3 separate regions of the Homo sapiens genome follow, and regions 1 and 2 are each linked to region 3. The links are contacts of gene promoters, found by promoter capture Hi-C in blood cells and fetal thymus (Javierre and others, 2016). All regions are on one chromosome and are shown on one strand. Each heading gives the region's core, a stretch centred on a gene start or on the middle of the fragment in contact. The rest is flanking DNA. Distances are from core to core; before and after follow the strand shown. Region 1 overlaps CDC23 (cell division cycle 23). Region 2 overlaps KIF20A (kinesin family member 20A). Region 3 holds the start of GFRA3 (GDNF family receptor alpha 3).

Region 1 (3,619 bases), core at 935-3,434, 67 kb before region 3:
CCATAACTGCAAGAATTTACCACGCTTGACAAATACAAGCTATGCTAATAGTTGATCAACCTAAATCATAAGATCTGAAATCTGCATTGCTCCAAAACCCAAAACTTTTTCAGCACCAATGACACTCAAAGCACCAATGACACTCACTGCAGCATTTTTTATTTCAACCAGTAAGTATAATGCAAATATACCAAAATCTGAAAAAAATCTGAAATCTGAAACACTTTTGGTCCCAAGCACTTCAAATAAGGGATACTCAACCTGTACTAGGAAATGAGAAGTACATAAAATGTTTTTTTAATCAATTTATATAGATAACAACTAAGAAAAAGTAGGAAAGTAAATTCATAATGTTTCAAAGTAAAATAATAAATTGTACTTATTATTCAATACAGTATTAAGTTGGTTTACTTGCATTGTCCTTTACAGTCATACTTTTTAATAGCCATGAAAGAAAAACAATAAATATACTATAAACATGATAAATGAATTTATAAATTTAAAAGTCAGCCCAGGCTTTTTAACTTAATTCTTACACAATAATATTAATTCACAGGCATGAAGAACCTTATATAACCTAAAGTAAATAAATAATCAGGTTGTTACTTATCCTGTTAGTCATTCCTAAGAATATTTTCTTCTCTACCATCCTTTTTAACTTTATTTATGATATCTTTTTTTTATTATTGCTATGTATAAAGTACATTCATTCAGTGGCCCACTGCTAAGCTATTTAAAAGATTTAACTTTTCCATTGGTTCTAAATATGGATGTTTCACTAAAGGCAGAATGACATTTTAAAATGGCCCTCACCAGATATCTGGAATACATATACAGAAAATAGGCTTTCTTGCTATTGCAGCCATGCAGGAAATGTGCTGCCCGATCATACTCTTTAACGTCAAAGTAGGCCTTGGCCAGGGTATAGGCATCCATATCCTGGGCATCTTCCTAAAAAAGAAACAAGCTTATGTAAGTGGTTGGGAATAGGACAACAAAACTTCAAATCTAAAAAGTATATTCGTTAATTTCAAGATGTAAAAGAAAAAGGATTGTTTTCTTCCTCCTAAAAACCTAGAATATGTAGATGCATATATATATAATTTTATATATTTATTTTATTACCAAGTAAGCCCATAGAACTCTTTTTTTTTTTTTTTTTTTGAGACAGAGCCTCACTCTGTCACCCAGGCTGGAGTGCAGTGGCGCAATCTCAGCTCACTGCAACCTCTGCCTCCCAGGTTCAAGCGATTATTGTGCCTCAGCTGCCAGAGTAGCTGGGATTACAGGTGTGCGCCACCACTTCCAGCTAATTTTTGTATTTTTAGTAGTGATGGGGTTTCGCCATGTTGGCCAGGCTGGTCTCAAACTCAGGGCCTCAAGTGATCTGCCTGCCTCGGCTTCCCAAAGTGCTGGAATTACAGGTATGAGCGACCGCACCCGGCCAAGTTTTTCTTTCTAATTTTTTCAAAATAAAAAAATGGAGAAAAAAGAAAACTTTAAAAAACTAAACGAACACTCATAAATGTGTATTGTTTCTATAAATGTAGTAGAAAGTTGAATAGGCTTTAGTGTTAAGGACCTAGATTCAAATTCTGACTTTTTGATTTCCTGGTTTCAGGACATTGGTAGGGAGGTTACTTAGCTTCTCTTAGCATCCATTTCTTCATCTGTAAAATGAAGCCAATAATACTGACCTTACAGATTTGACTTGAGGAAAATGTGAGTCACATAAAATATCCAGCATTAATACTGGCATTCTATTCCTTCTCCTGTCTTTTACAGTCCTACATAAATGCAATGTACGTGCAATTACTTATATTTTTTGTACTTCAATAAAGTTTTGTCATAATTTAGTATTGCTGAAGGCACAGAACACAGCTGTAATTCTCTATGTTAAAAAAAAATTAGATAATGTCACATTTAAGTTAAAAACATACAATCCTTGGCTGAGCGCAGTGGCTGTAATCCCAGCACTGTGGGAGACCAGGGCAAGAGGATGGCTTGAACTCAGGAGTTCAGGACCGGCCTGGGCAACGTGGCAAGACCCTGCCTCTACTAAAAATACAAAAAAATAGTTGGGCATGGTACTATGTGCCGGGGGTCCCAGCTACTCGGGAGGCTGAGCCTTGCTGCAGTGAGCCAAGATCGCGCCACATCACTTCAATCTGGTGACGTAGCAAGACTCTGTCTCAAAAAAAAAACAAAAAACAAAAATTCAATCCCCCAAATTCTTTTTTTTTTTTGAGACAGAGCCTCGCTCTGTCGCCTAGGATGGAATGCAGTGGTGTGATATTGGCTGACTGTAACCTCCACCTTCTAGGTTCAAGCAATTCTCCTGCCTCGGCCTCCCTAGCAGCTGGGATTACAGGTGCCCGCCACCATGCCTGGCTAATTTTTGTATTTTAGTAGAGACGGAGTTTCACCAGGCTGGTCTTGAACTCCTGACCTCAAGCGATCCACCCGCCTTGAACTCACAGCAGAGTGCTGGGATTACAGGCACGAGCCACCACCGGCCCAATCCTCCAAATTCTAAGGATGAGTTAATTAAAATTTGAATAACTGTATTTTCCTCATCTTTCTTGCCCCAAATATCACCAGAACAAAACTGGAACCAAAACATATTCAGTGCTTTCTTCATTAGATCAACATGTCCTAAATACGACCATTTGATTTAGGATTCTGGAGGCCCTTCTCATATCAACTCACCACTTGTTTATTTCTTTCCCCCTAACTCTTTCACCTGCATTATGCCTTTTTGAGTAAGAAATACTTGTTATTGCTGAATGGGACAAAAAAATCAAGAAAGGCATCATCAGGAAAACAAAATGGATTATAATGAAAAGCATTCAGATTATACAAGACTATGTATACATGCATACTATAGGCCCAGCATAAAATATATTCGTAACAGTCGATATATCCTTATAATTCAGAAAGTTTTACTATTTGGATTATATAATCTTAAATTTTTCTGTTTCATTCTTGCTTATGGGAAGAATCTGGAATGTTCTACTGAAAATTACATGTAATTTAGAGGCATTTAGCATTTGGCTGAGTTTTGTTTCGTTTTGAGACAGGATCTCACTCTGTCTCCTGGGCTGCAGTGTAGTGGCGCAATCTCAAATCACTCCAACCTCAGCCTCCTGGGCTCAAGTGATCCTCCTCCCACCTCAGCCTCTGAAGTCACTGGGTCCACAGGTGCGTGCCACCGCACCACCATGTATTTCTAGTACAGATATAGTTTCACTATGTTGCTTAGGCTGGTCTGGAACTCCCGGCCTCAAGCAGTCCTCCCAAAGTGCTGGGATTACAGGCATGGGCCACCATGCTCAGCCAGGTTGAGTTTTTAAACCAAGAAGCCACAATTGGTCCTAGTCACATCTTATATTCAGAAAAGCTAAGCTTCAGGGCCAGGTGTGGTGGCTCATGCCTGTAATCCCAGCACTTTGGGAGGCTAAGACAGGTGGATCACCTGAGGTCAAGAGTTCAAGACCAGCCTAGCCAACATGGTGAAACCCCATCTCTACTAAAAATACAAAAAATTAGCCAGGTGTGGTGGTGAGCACCTGTAATCCCAGCTACTTGGGAGGCTGAGGAAGGAGAATCACTTGAACCT
Region 2 (3,746 bases), core at 1,015-3,514, 91 kb before region 3:
GTATCTGTTGAATGAATGACATAGGTGCTATTATTAACCCCATTCTGCAGATGAGGAAACTGAGGCCAAGAATTTCAAGAACTCATAATTCAAGGTCTCATAGTTACTAAGTCATGGAATTGGGACTCAAATTCAAGTGTTTGCCTCTGCTTTGCTTTAATATCACATACTAATTTTCATACCAGTCAATAAATTCGAACTCAGATCATCGGTGTGGCAAGCCACATTTGCAGGATAATGACGAGACAGGGAAGGGTGACAAAGTAGTAAAAATGTCCATGTGGGTTGGAATGATTGTGGAACCAAAGAGTAGCTGCACAGAGACATTTGAGGTGAAATGGGGTAGTGTTATCATAGTTCCTAGAAACTACTGTTTGCCCATTTGCTCAGAGGTAACTGCTGAAATTAATCTGTGGTTCTGGGCTGGGATTCTGCCACAGGTTCCATCTGAGGACAGTATGGAGAAGGTGAAAGTATACTTGAGGGTTAGGCCCTTGTTACCTTCAGAGTTGGAACGACAGGAAGATCAGGTAAGTGTCTGAGAAGGGAGGATTCAAGGTGAAATGATGCAGTACAAAAGATTCCCAGGAATGCCTTCTGTGACAACTGTATTTTCTCCCTTCTCAGGGTTGTGTCCGTATTGAGAATGTGGAGACCCTTGTTCTACAAGCACCCAAGGACTCTTTTGCCCTGAAGAGCAATGAACGGGGAATTGGCCAAGCCACACACAGGTTCACCTTTTCCCAGGTATGGAGGGTACTGGTTTGTGAACAAAAGACCAACATGTAAGGGCAACTTTATTCCCTCTTTAGAGGGAAAGCTTCTCTTCCTGACTGTGAGTTCCTTGTATATGCACACCTACAATTTTGAGGGCCCTAGTTATGTGTTAGTCAATGTGTCAAGTAACATATGTATATCAGTTCTGAAAAATTCTATTGTTATTATCATTATTTCCTTATTTTCCTCACAAGGATAGTGTGGCTCAATGAATGTAATATTGCTGAAGCCATGTAGCTAGTCACTAGTAGAGTTAGGACCTGAGTCTAGATCCATGTATCTCCAAAGCCCATACTTGTGGGCCATTATATTGCCCCATTGTGTGTGCAGCATCAGGCCTAGGGCATAGCATTCCTTAAGTGTTTGTTGATTTGGTGGAAAGATGGACTAGCAGAGAGTGCTTGAGTCCTCAGTGTTTAGGGAACAGCCAGCAGCATTGCAGGAAGAAGCTGCTTGAGTGGTCTCCAGAGCCAACCACTCAGGAAGGAATATATCTGCTGGCTCTGCACAGGAGGCAAGTGGGAGATGAAGGAGAGGCCTCTAAAAAACTGGGTCTCTCTCTAGATCTTTGGGCCAGAAGTGGGACAGGCATCCTTCTTCAACCTAACTGTGAAGGAGATGGTAAAGGATGTACTCAAAGGGCAGAACTGGCTCATCTATACATATGGAGTCACTAACTCAGGGAAAACCCACACGATTCAAGGTGAGTAGTAAGCCTTCACGGGATTCCTGATTGGCTGGTAATGGTGTTGTTTTTACCTTTTGAGACTCTGAGTTAGGGGGAGAAGGGCACTTGCCTCAGCTGTCCATCTTTCATATGCCTCCAGGTACCATCAAGGATGGAGGGATTCTCCCCCGGTCCCTGGCGCTGATCTTCAATAGCCTCCAAGGCCAACTTCATCCAACACCTGATCTGAAGCCCTTGCTCTCCAATGAGGTAATCTGGCTAGACAGCAAGCAGATCCGACAGGAGGAAATGAAGAAGCTGTCCCTGCTAAATGGAGGCCTCCAAGAGGTAAAGCATTGGTATCCATGGCAGTGGGGGTAGGGGGTACAAATCTCGGGGAAGTTTTGTGCTTACCTTCTCCCTGTGCCCCTCCAGGAGGAGCTGTCCACTTCCTTGAAGAGGAGTGTCTACATCGAAAGTCGGATAGGTACCAGCACCAGCTTCGACAGTGGCATTGCTGGGCTCTCTTCTATCAGTCAGTGTACCAGCAGTAGCCAGCTGGATGGTATGTACCGTGACTGGGCTCTGCCAAAAAATAGTAGGAACTCACTCCCTGTTCCTAATAGCTGCCAGGAGTACAGACCAGAGGTTGCAATCTAAGGTCTGCCTTCCAAGGCCCCTGCAGGCCAAAAGAGAGGTGAACTGCTCTAGGTTGATGCCCTATACATTGGCTTCTTCTCCAGAAACAAGTCATCGATGGGCACAGCCAGACACTGCCCCACTACCTGTCCCGGCAAACATTCGCTTCTCCATCTGGATCTCATTCTTTGAGATCTACAACGAACTGCTTTATGACCTATTAGAACCGCCTAGCCAACAGCGCAAGAGGCAGACTTTGCGGCTATGCGAGGATCAAAATGGCAATCCCTATGTGAAAGGTAAAGGAACATGGGGAAAGCTGGCATGAACCCTGGAGGGCAACTGGGGAGAGACTGGCAAAAGAGTTGGATGTTCCCATCTTACACCCCTCTCCTTTGGCCCCAGATCTCAACTGGATTCATGTGCAAGATGCTGAGGAGGCCTGGAAGCTCCTAAAAGTGGGTCGTAAGAACCAGAGCTTTGCCAGCACCCACCTCAACCAGAACTCCAGCCGCAGGTGAGTAGATTGTAAGAATAAACTCTTCACTGTGTTCCAGGAAACATTAGTCCTCTGCCTGGTCATGGAAAATGTGCAATGACTTTTTGTTTTTCTTAACTTCCAGTCACAGCATCTTCTCAATCAGGATCCTACACCTTCAGGGGGAAGGAGATATAGTCCCCAAGATCAGCGAGTAAGTTTATCCATTTAGAAATTTGGGCTTCTTGGCCATAAATGATAGTTGGGAAAGCATGGAGGAGGTCCTCAGGGGAACTATGTGTTCTCCTTCTTTGGGTACAGAGATTCTTAGTGGGCCGTCCCCTCTCCAGAATTATACAAAGGGCCAGAAGGCTCATAACATGTGAGGCCCTTATGTCAGATCCTGTGCATCATTCTAGGCTGTCACTCTGTGATCTGGCTGGCTCAGAGCGCTGCAAAGATCAGAAGAGTGGTGAACGGTTGAAGGAAGCAGGAAACATTAACACCTCTCTACACACCCTGGGCCGCTGTATTGCTGCCCTTCGTCAAAACCAGCAGAACCGGTGAGCTTTTGACTATAATTCCTGGGCTCTGCAATTTGCTAAGAGACTTCCTGGACACCACTGGGGATGGTGCTAGGATACCCAAAGGGCTGGTGTTCTGCTCACAGCTCTATTATCTCTGATTCTCTGCCAGGTCAAAGCAGAACCTGGTTCCCTTCCGTGACAGCAAGTTGACTCGAGTGTTCCAAGGTTTCTTCACAGGCCGAGGCCGTTCCTGCATGATTGTCAATGTGAATCCCTGTGCATCTACCTATGATGAAACTCTTCATGTGGCCAAGTTCTCAGCCATTGCTAGCCAGGTGAGAAGCTAGAGGTGTGATGGGTGTGCGCACTTGGAACTGGTAACTCTAAGAAAGCTCCTAGGGACTACTTATGGAGTCAAGTAAGATATTTTTTTTCCCTCTAGCTTGTGCATGCCCCACCTATGCAACTGGGATTCCCATCCCTGCACTCGTTCATCAAGGAACATAGTCTTCAGGTATCCCCCAGCTTAGAGAAAGGGGCTAAGGCAGACACAGGCCTTGATGATGATATTGAAAATGAAGCTGACATCTCCATGTATGGCAAAGAGGTGAGAATACAAGAAAGCTTTAGTGTAGCAGCTTAGTAGCTACACATTTTT
Region 3 (3,630 bases), core at 780-3,279:
GGAATCACACCACTGAACTCCAGCCTGGGTGACAGATTGATACCCTGTCTCAAAAAAAAAATCAGATTTCAAATAAAACTATTAATTTCCAATTTGTCTTGAAAAATGGAAACACTCGGGCCCACATGTAACGGGTGGAGTAATGACTGCCCCCTTTTGACAAGTCATGCCTTTTCCAGCTTGTTATAGTCCATACCACTTTCTATTACTTGCCCCACCTCCTCATTTATACAGCCACTGCCACGTCTATTTCATATTGATTTGTTAGCAACCTGGTTTTGTAACTTTGTTTTCTGCTTCTTGGCTCATCAGAGAATGAGTAGCTACAGAATGGGTCAGATCAGGCTATGCCTCAGGGCACAAGATCCTCATTTGTTTCTCATCAGTGAGGCCCACAACCCAGGTATCCATTTTATAGTTGGATGAACAAAGAAAAGTAATGTGCACCAGGGGATGTAGCAAGTCAAGACCGAGTCAAGGCTAGAACCCAGGACTCCAGCCTCCTATCCACTTCAGAATGATTTTCAGTACATGACACCACTTCCCCATGAATCGGAGGTCTCCTATATGCTTGGCTTTAGCAGGCCCTGAGCAATGATATTTTCCACCCCCAAAGCCCTCTGTTGGTCTGTGCTCTTGAAGAGCACTTGGCTCTACATGGTACCTCCTAGATGACTGTTTTATGGATTTTCAATGAGGCTACTTAACCAGATGTCATTGCTGTCAAGTATTACTGTGGAAAATAGATCTGTCACCAACACTGCTTCATTAAACCATTTAATGAGAAAGGTGTTTAATGTTTTCCCCTGATCCTGACATGCAGCCATAACCTTTAGGATTAGTGAAATTTCCTGGGCAGTCAAATCAGACTGGTGATGTCTTGCTGCCCTGACTTACTGATGTTGGCAGGTGGACAGACCAGGGTTTTTCCTCCTTCCTTCCATATCTGTCTCAAGGCAGCATTTCTACAGCACTGCGTTGTGGACTGAGGTCTCAGGGCAGTGTGGTGGTCTCTCTGTCTCAGGAGTCCCTCCATTCAGTCTCTGGGCAGGAGCCGCATAATAAGATTCCACACACCCATACCACTCACGAAGGCCATGGGCCTTCCAGGGATCTCGGATCCCAGGCTGTTCTTCCTTGGGGGAGTGGCCTGGTTCTAAAACCAGGCCTTGAACTACATCTACAAAACATCTATTGTGGATTATTTATTATCCAAGGGGCAAGCCACTGTGCTAGACGGCTTGCAAGGCCTGCTATTGTAGAAGGTTATGAAACAAGTCAGTTTTAACGAACTTCTTTTTCTTCACCTGTACCTAGTTTCTTCCTCAGTCCTTAAAGCAGATGGAAGAGTTAAAGCCCACGTGGAGCAAATGACACTCTGTTTCTGATCTGATTCTCCCCGCCTCTTAGAGACGCTGTCTTGGTAGTGACCTGGCTGTGGGTTGTTCTGTGACTGTGTAGACCTACCTCAAAAGAGGGAAGAGGGGGGAAAAAGGGGCGAGGAGGAGATGCTTGGGTGGCCAGGCCATTGCTGGCACTCAGTCTATCTCAGTTCGTACACTGTGTTAGGTGTGACCCCAGCCCCTTGCAGGCACCCTGGGCTTCCTGCTCCAGTTCCCCTTGTTCGGCTCGGATGCACCGGGAGGCTGCTGCGCCCTCTCCGGACAGGTGCCCCGGGCCTCGCCTACACCTCACCTCCCCCTCCCACTGTACCCCCGGCCGGTGCGCGCTCTGACACTCACCGGCTGCGAGAGGCAGCGGCGACGGCGGCAGCAGCAGCAGCAACATCAGGACTACGGGCGGCAGCGGTCGCGGGTTCAGGGGGCGCACCATGGCGAGCTGTAGGCGCCGGGCTCCGCGCTCCCCTCGCTCCTCCCCTGGAGCTCTGAGAGCGGGGCTCCCTCGACCGGCACCTCCCGCCCCCGCCTCCCGCCCTCCAGCGCGACGCACACACTCTCCCACCAGGGTCCTGGGCGCCGCCCTCCAACTCCGAAGCGCGCGTCCACACCACGCGCCTCCAGCGCTGGTCCGAGGGACCGCGGGGGTGGGGGCGGGGGAGGGCCGGCGCCCCGGGAGCCGCCGGGCTTGGTGCGGAAGAGGTTGCTCTTTCCGAGGCGGCCCACCTGCTGTCTGACAAGTTCGACTAGCAAGACATTGTGGAAGCTGCCGCTGGAAACTCGCCATCTAGGAGAACCAAATATTTCTCCAAGAAAAGCACCCTTTCTCACTTTCTGGATCCCACTCACCCACACATCAAAGAACAGACACCACCACAAAAGAGATTTTGTAACAAAACTTGAACAAGCCAACACAAGGGCACTTGCATTTCTAGTATTTTTCTTAGAATTTGCACATCTATGATCTCGTTTTTTCCTCTCCTAAGTGTCTTCTAGGGTAAGATTGGGTGGTTATTAAGCTCAAGATGCTGCAAAGATGGGTCGCAGACAGGTGGAATGGCTTTGCTGGGGGAGCAGACCTGGGGCATTAGATTCCAAAATTCAGCCCCGATGGTGTCGTGAGGGAAGATGGAAGATTAAACTCTCCACTAAATAGCAGAGATTTCCTTGGACCAAAGCTCACTGAGGAAGGTGCCTGGAGAGACCATTTAGGAGCCCATCCTTTTCACATGATGAGACTTTCGGAGAGCAAGCTACTCTATCAGGATTAAACAACTAGGTAGAAACACATCTGTGCCCAGAACACAGGACGTCTACCCATAAGGATAAGGGTATTTATTGGGCCTGGGCCTGATTCCCACAAGATCCCAGGATAAAGCCAGAAGCAGAATGGCTTGGAAGAATGAGAACTAAGCAGCGCATAGAAAGAGAGAAGGAGAAGAGGGTGATGAAAGGAAGTGGAGGGTTTCATCCCCTAACCCTCTAACTTGACCCCCTCCTTACTTCCACAGCCAGCCTGGCAGAGGGCCAGCAGGGAGTACTGAGAATCGCAATATAAACCTCTGAGATTTATTGGCTGCTGCTTCTGAATATGGCCATCCTGCTGTGGCCTCTGGGGGGCATTTGCCGATGTAATCAGCCCAGAAAGAGAGTCATTCCAGCTGGGGGTGTAAATCACCCTTGGCAAAGCTAGGAGAGAGACATGTGGCCCTAGATAAGGAAGGAGACTGATGTGGCCTCTGTGCCCTTCCCTCCCTTCTCCTGCCCAGGGGGTGCTGGTTCCTGAGCTGTAATGCACTTTAAATGGAGTTTGTCCTTCGTTTTAATCTATATCTGCCCTGCCAGTTTTACAGAAGAGCTGTAAAAGTGAACATCTGGCTACTCAGCTTTTGTACAAGGCCTGTTTTCCCCCAGCTCCACCCTATCTCCATGTGCCTTTCCCAAGCCCTCCTCTCCAGAAAGGTGAGGGAACATGAAGCTGGGGGGCTACCATTAAAGGCCCCATGATGTCAGGCCCTCTACCCCATTGCCAGAGAGAAATATGCTCCAGGCACCTCATTTTCTCTCACACCTGCTATTACAGGCAGACAATCGTTTTTTGGGTTTTTTTTTTTGAAACTGACAATACTTAAGAAAGGAATTTATAAAGCAAAATGTAACAATTTCAGGCTCTTTGGGATGATAGGAAAGGGCTGAGACCCATGAACCAACAAAGATGTGAGGTGGTCAAGGG

What was found. Contacts are between HindIII fragments. The CHiCAGO score rates a contact against its expected background, and 5 or more counts as called.
Region 1: a contact is called between a fragment that was not itself captured here and the fragment with the promoter of GFRA3 in region 3, in 1 of 17 cell types (megakaryocytes). The highest score is 5.5, in megakaryocytes.
Region 2: a fragment that was not itself captured here is called in contact with the fragment with the promoter of GFRA3 in region 3 in 2 of 17 cell types (megakaryocytes and erythroblasts); the score reaches 7.4 in megakaryocytes.

What each region holds. Positions count from the first base shown.
Region 1 is chr5:138,205,734-138,209,352 of GRCh38, forward strand. It overlaps CDC23 (cell division cycle 23), which reads right to left. Exons shown (of 16, transcript NM_004661.4): 3 at 814-951. Among named protein-coding and RNA genes, the nearest start is that of CDC23, 5.8 kb to the right of the region's middle. The HindIII fragment of the contact is 2,438 bases long and covers 966-3,403 here.
Region 2 is chr5:138,180,982-138,184,727 of GRCh38, forward strand. It overlaps KIF20A (kinesin family member 20A), which reads left to right. Exons shown (of 19, transcript NM_005733.3): 3 at 441-530; 4 at 628-747; 5 at 1,342-1,480; 6 at 1,605-1,792; 7 at 1,880-2,009; 8 at 2,188-2,382; 9 at 2,489-2,600; 10 at 2,707-2,775; 11 at 2,981-3,124; 12 at 3,258-3,423; 13 at 3,531-3,695. Among named protein-coding and RNA genes, the nearest start is that of KIF20A, 3.7 kb to the left of the region's middle. The HindIII fragment of the contact is 2,892 bases long and covers 819-3,710 here.
Region 3 is chr5:138,272,592-138,276,221 of GRCh38, forward strand. It overlaps GFRA3 (GDNF family receptor alpha 3), which reads right to left and starts at 2,030. Exons shown (of 8, transcript NM_001496.4): 1 at 1,743-2,030. The coding sequence starts at 1,833. RefSeq lists silencers at 1,753-1,942, 2,033-2,122. The HindIII fragment of the contact is 6,195 bases long and covers 1-3,630 here.